2 separate regions of the Homo sapiens genome follow, and region 2 is linked to region 1. Evidence: promoter capture Hi-C in 16 types of primary human blood cells and fetal thymus (Javierre and others, 2016). All regions are on one chromosome and are shown on one strand. Each heading gives the region's core, a stretch centred on a gene start or on the middle of the fragment in contact. The rest is flanking DNA. Distances are from core to core; before and after follow the strand shown.

What was found. The method cuts DNA at HindIII sites, captures the fragments that hold promoters and counts their contacts. A CHiCAGO score of 5 or more calls a contact.
Region 2: a contact is called between a fragment that was not itself captured here and the fragment with the promoter of GPR31 in region 1, in 2 of 17 cell types (activated CD4 T cells and non-activated CD4 T cells). The highest score is 7.7, in activated CD4 T cells.

Annotation. Positions count from the first base shown.
Region 1 is chr6:167,156,195-167,159,235 of GRCh38, forward strand. It overlaps GPR31 (G protein-coupled receptor 31), which reads right to left and starts at 1,786. Exons shown (of 1, transcript NM_005299.3): 1 at 1-1,786. The coding sequence starts at 1,637. The coding sequence ends at 678. The HindIII fragment of the contact is 7,257 bases long and covers 988-3,041 here.
Region 2 is chr6:166,757,834-166,760,823 of GRCh38, forward strand. It overlaps a transcript of RPS6KA2 not described here. Among named protein-coding and RNA genes, the nearest start is that of RPS6KA2, 130 kb to the left of the region's middle. The HindIII fragment of the contact is 2,266 bases long and covers 497-2,762 here.

The DNA of each region.
Region 1 (3,041 bases), core at 536-3,035:
TCCAGAAACGTATCAGGAAAGCATTTCTTACAGTAAACTAGGGAACTCACTACATTTTCCTTAACATAATGTATAATCTAGAAAAATGAAGCAAAATTTTATGAAAACAAAAATGTTATGTTCCAAATAAAGGCTAGCATGTACGACAGTACCTTATATACAGCAGAGTCTCTTTTTAGAACCAGGGCACTTTCTGATGTCGGTCATCCCCAGTCTGCACAGCAGGTGGGAAGAAAACATAGTTTTTTTTTTGTATTTAAAACTGAAGCATAATAAATGAAAATGACTTGCTGAGACCAAGTAAGAGTTGGAAAGATGCCATCACCCGGCTTTCTTCTCTTCCTTCACTGATTTAGCAAATTACATTTCTTCAAGTGTGGAGATGGAGTAGCTGCCCGACTTTTCAGTTCAGCAACTGAATCTGCATCATAGTTGGGTAGGAGGAGGTTCTAGCTTGTTCATTTTGATTTGCCACTCTACAAGGTAAAATCACAGAGGACCACCCTGGTCAACAAAGTATAAGACCACACCTGCAGCAACTGTGCCCATGTTTATGCTCTGATCCTTGTATTGCAGTCTTAAGACTTCTTCTTCTTCCAGAATCCCAAAGTAGGAGTAATTATTATTTAGGTCGCAGGTAGTTCCATAAACACGGGCGTTGAGGACGCTGGCTGTTGTCAGGAATAGGAGTCTCTGGGGTTGAAATCTGGGGGCTCTGCTGCCTGCCCTTTGCCTCGGAGGGTGTGGAAGACCCTCCGATAGGAGCTCCTGAAGGTGGGGCTGGAGAAGCAGTATACCACGGGGTTGAGCACACTGTGCAGGTAGGTGAGGCTGCCCGTGACATCCGAGGTATGAGCCACTGCACAAAGGGCCCTGCAGCTCCCCAGATTCTGGAAGATGTGCATCAGGACTCTGGCCAGGAAGCAGGGCAGAAAGCACAGAGCAAACAGCACCACCACCAAGGTGACCAGTGCCTGGGCCCGCTGAAGCTTGGGCTGTTTCTCAGGCTCCCGGAGTCTTTTCTGGAGAGCCCTGATGATGCCTGCATTGCAGAACACGATGAGGCCAAAGGGGAGGACAAACTGAAGGCAGGAGAGTGCTTCCTGCCAGATGATGCTGAAGGAGCCGTCTGCCCTGGAGTAGAAACTGTGGCACCTGGTGGAGTTCTGGGCGGCCTCAGAGATGAGCAAGCCCGGGCAGGTGAGGGCGACCATCAGGAGCCAGACGAGGCCCGAGACCCCCAGGGCCGCCTGAGGAGACAGCAGGTTGACCTTAAGCCGAGGGTGGACCACACGGAGGTACCGGTCCAAAGCCACGGCGGCCAGGAAGGCCATCCCCACGCTGCGGCTGAGGTCCAGCAGGAAGTGCAGGGCCCAGCAGCCCACACGGCCCAGATGCCAAGCCTGGAGGCTCAGGTAGAAGGCGGCCAGGAAAGGCAGGCACGCAGCCAACAGCAGGTCAGCCAGGGCCAGGTTGAGCAGGTAGACAGCGTACGGCTTCCACACCCTGACCCGGAACAGGAAGGTCCACAGCGCCACCGCGTTGCCCAGCAGACCCAGCCCACACTCCAGCCCCAGCAAGACACCCACAGCTGTGGCCACCACAGTGCTGGGGGCTGAGCAGTTTGGGAATGGCATCACCCGGCCGTGAGGGGCTGCAGGCACAGCTGGAGCAGGTACAGGAGGAACTCTGTGCTCTTTCTTACAAAATGAAAGAAAAGGCCTTTTCCTGCCACAGAGTAGACAAGATCTACATTTGCCCAACAAGAACAGTTCCTCAGCAGAATAGAGTCCACAGCAAACCAAAATTCATTTGGGGAAAGAGGATGAGCAGGGGAGGGAAAAGCCCCTTTGCAGTTGTGTTCTGTTTTCTTCCGCCATAAAAAAGGGGAAATGGTGTTTCGCTTCACATCACCGGGCTGCAAAGCTGAGGAGTAATGTCCTATAACGTCTGGGGGTCCAGGGCTTTGCATCCACAGTCCTGAAAGAAGGAAAAGTCTAATTATGCAAAGACTCCTATGTCTGTATACAATTAAAATAACAATGGAATCAAAAAGATTGTTCTCTACTTTGAATATGTTTCATGGGGAAATTTTCTTCTTCCTTTTCATACATAAAGGACGCTTGCTGGGATCCTTCTGCATGGGGCTTGATTTTACACACTGGTCAGATGTGGTCCCCACACTTAAACTTGAAAGGGGATTTGAGACAACCTGCTCATTCCATAGCTGATGGTTTCACTTGTACTTGTGTTTTGTTAAATACAAATTTATTTTATTTTCTCTGCTGGAGTCTTTCCTACCTAGTACACCACTTGGATTGGGATCTGGACCAGCAGGGCCTGGAGTGGGCCCTGGAAGCATGGAAAAATCAATGGCTTGTAAAAATGCGTAGAATCCACTAGAAAGTTAGGTTCATCAGCCAGGGACATACTCCATATATCCATGTGTCGCTAGTGACAGACAATGCCTGGCACACAGCATTATCAACAAGCATTTCTTTGATGAATAAACGTGTGCAGTCATCATTACCCTCTGATGACCCTAATACATCTCAGTCCTTACCCATCAATGACCCTATTATACTTGGTTCTCACCCAATGTTGACCCTAATTTACCTTGGTCCTTACCCACTATTGACCCTAATTCATCCTGGTCTTCACTCAACGTTGACCCTACTTCATCTTGATCTTTTCCCACTTTTGACCTTACTGCATCTTGGTTCTTACCCACTGATGATCCTAATTTATCTCAGTCCTAACCATTCTTGATCCTACTTCATCTTGATCCTTACCAACTGGTGACCCTACTTCATCATAGGTCTTACCCATATTGACTCTAATTTAAGTTGGTCCTCTCCCACTGTTGACTCTAATTTATCTTGGGTCCATTCAGCCTGGTTTGAATTTTGGAGTTAAGTAAACTTTAGTTATAATTTTTTGTTTCTCCATTTATTAGCAGTGTGGTTTTGGGAAAGCAAATTAACTTCTCTGAACTCCAGGCTCTTCACTTGAGAGGTGAAGATGGTAACACCTTCTTGAAG
Region 2 (2,990 bases), core at 380-2,879, 400 kb before region 1:
AAACTCAGAAGCAAAGGAGAGAAGCTGAGAAAACCTCAGCCCCGAGGCTGGCCTTCTCCTCTGATGAGAATGCGAAGTTACTCATGCTGCTCCGAATCCCAGCAGGCTGGAACACAACATCTGGCAGAAGCCGGCAAAGCAGAAGCGTCACTTAGAGGCAATCAAATGTCAGAAACCATCAAAGACACTCTGAGGGGCAGGCCTGAGGTCCTCCTCAACGCACACCTGCCCCCACTTGCCCACAGCCAGGCTGGCAACGTGCCTTAGCAGTGCATGAAAAGACACTTCGGTCCTTCTCTGTGTCATTTAAACTGAAAGGAGGAGGCAGGCGTAGGAGGAAGGTGAATGAAAATGGTTGCTTATTTCTTTAGGTGGCGCTGGGTCAGTGAATGCACACCAAGGGTGCGAGGATGTCATCACCCTGTATTACCCCTCCAGATGATGCCTCCGCCCCAGAGACACAGGCACGTGCACATGCATGCACGTTCTCTCTACAAGCTTTTCCCGGGCTAACTCGGAATATGTCCTCTCTGGCTAACATAAACATTTGCTTTGTTTTCCTGATCAAAACTGAATTCCCATGTTTCCAGAACATCAGCCCCTTTCTTGCTTTCACTTGCCATGGAGCCCTGCCTTGGTTCTGCCAGAAGCGTCCAGGGCTCCGTGTGATTGGCAGCTGCTGAGTACAGGCGGCAGGTTCAGAGTCAGACCCAGGACACTGGCGGAGTTTCCTTTGTTTACTGGTATAGCTTCTTGTTAATACATAAATAGCTTTCTCCTCTGAAAACCTACAGATGCAACAGAAGAGACCTACCAACTGACAATCGCCTTCGAGGTGACAGACAATAGAGGCCACGGCTAAGGATGCAGGTGTGGAAATAAACAGATATAAAAACACAGGACTTGAAAAGAAGGAAGCAAAGGCAAAGAGGAAATTTAAGACTGAAATGGACAGAAATGACCTTGATTTAGGGTAGTGCATTGCTAAAAGACGGGGCCCTGTCCATCCCTTCCTTACTCCAAGACATTGAGATAAAGAATATTTCCTTCCCAATCAGACAGAAATAGTTGAAGTGCAATCGTCCTTTCTCCAGTGGTTGCTATTTCAGGAAATGGGTTCTACCAAAACAACTTTTCACCCATTTCGTGGCTTCCAGAGCACACATGGCGTATGTTCTTTCCCTTGAATGCAGAGCTGATTAAAACTCATTTATCCAGGTCAATGTTGCATTCGTGTGTGTGTGTGTGTGCACATGTGTGTGCCTGTGTGTGCAGGTCTGCGTCTACACAGATACATACATACTTCAGGTAAATAACAACTGAAAGGAGCTTTGGTCAGTCCTTCAGAGGGACTTTCTAAGGGATCATTTTTATTAACCCTACTTTCCACTATGGGAACTTTATTAAGAACCTATAATGTAACATTTTTAGAAACACATGCCATACATCTGCCATTATATACACATTTTTTTCTATTCTGGAGCCGTTGGCAAATATTACTTCTAAGCAGAACGGTCACACTTCTGAGCTGTTACTTTGAGAATAGAGCACGGTTTGTTCACAGGCCAAGTTATGGCAACAGAAGAAAATGCCTCTGTCTTCCAAAATTTCTCAATTACCTTTTGCTACTTTTGCTGGCCCAAAATAATAACACGGGGAGATTAATAGAAAATAAGGCTCTTTCTAGTCTCACGAAATTTCGTCTCTGTGATTTTATGTGAGTCTCAGCACTGCTGGTGTGTTTCAGCCTTGACTTCTCTCTGTGAAATCATCAGGAGCTTTAAAACAATCCCAGTTCTATTTCTTTTCTCCAAAATGAATCCACATCCACATTTCACCTCTTTGAAAATGCTGGATCTTAAAATATATGTGCAGCCTTTCACAGAAATAGGCACTCCTGCTTCCTGGAAACACACTGCTGGCGTCTTCTCATACCGTCTACCGCTGGCTGCAGCCTCAGCTCCTGCGGAAGACACAGCCGCAGCCGAGTCCGTATCCTCGCCCAGCGGTCAACGCAGCGCCGTTCCCACCATTGTACAGAGAGGTTTGTGCTTGGTGAAGCCCTACTGCAGGGGATTTCTGAGTGTCGAAGGAGGACAATATAAAATATTTTCCTGAAAACTTAACTCTGTGGTCCTTCACAAATACTTTGTTTTAATTTTAAAATATGTAGTATTCAGGCTTGATTGAGATTTAGAAATTTTTACTAAATTTTTGTTTGAGGGTGTGGTGTTGGGGCCCTGGTATTGTTTCAAATACACAGGAATAAAAACGGAAGGTTTCTTTTGGCTATCTGTAACCTATTCATTCGGTTGGCAAAGATGCGTAGCTCATGTAGGGCAATGTTCCCAGCTTAGGCAAATCAGGGGCACCTGGGGAATGGCGATTTGGAGAGAGGAAGGTGGGCTCATTCTGGTGAACAAATATTTCCTTAGGTAATTTTGCACACAGAGTAAAAGTGAAAGGCTTCTTAAGAAATTGTGTTTACAATTGTATAAACATCTTCTTTCGAGGATATATTGAGCTGGTCTAATCTCCAAAGGAAAAATACCCAAGTCAAGCAAAGCAATTGAACTACATCGAAGATGAACTCACCAAAGCGATCTACTGAATGTCAAAGTGATAAGATCATCGCACAGAGTATGTGGGCACCGCCCCCACCCCCATCGCGGTCTGGTTTGAGACTGTGAGGACTCCAGGTTGATTCTATCGCTCCTGGCAACAGGAAACTAGCATAGGTTAGATCAGTGCAAGCCACGGAAAGCTTGAAAATGGCTCGGCCAAAAATGCTCATCTTTCCTGCACCACATATTTTGCTGGAATCGCTTGAAATAGCCTGCTCACTGGCAATCCCTCTTCCCATTTCCAACCTGATGGCAACGTGCATGGATACTGAGTTGGGGAAAGAAGAATCGGATGGGGGAAATGGAGGCACAAAGGGTCCGAATAATCCTCACCTACAGTCATTTGGGTTTTGGTATCTGTATTTA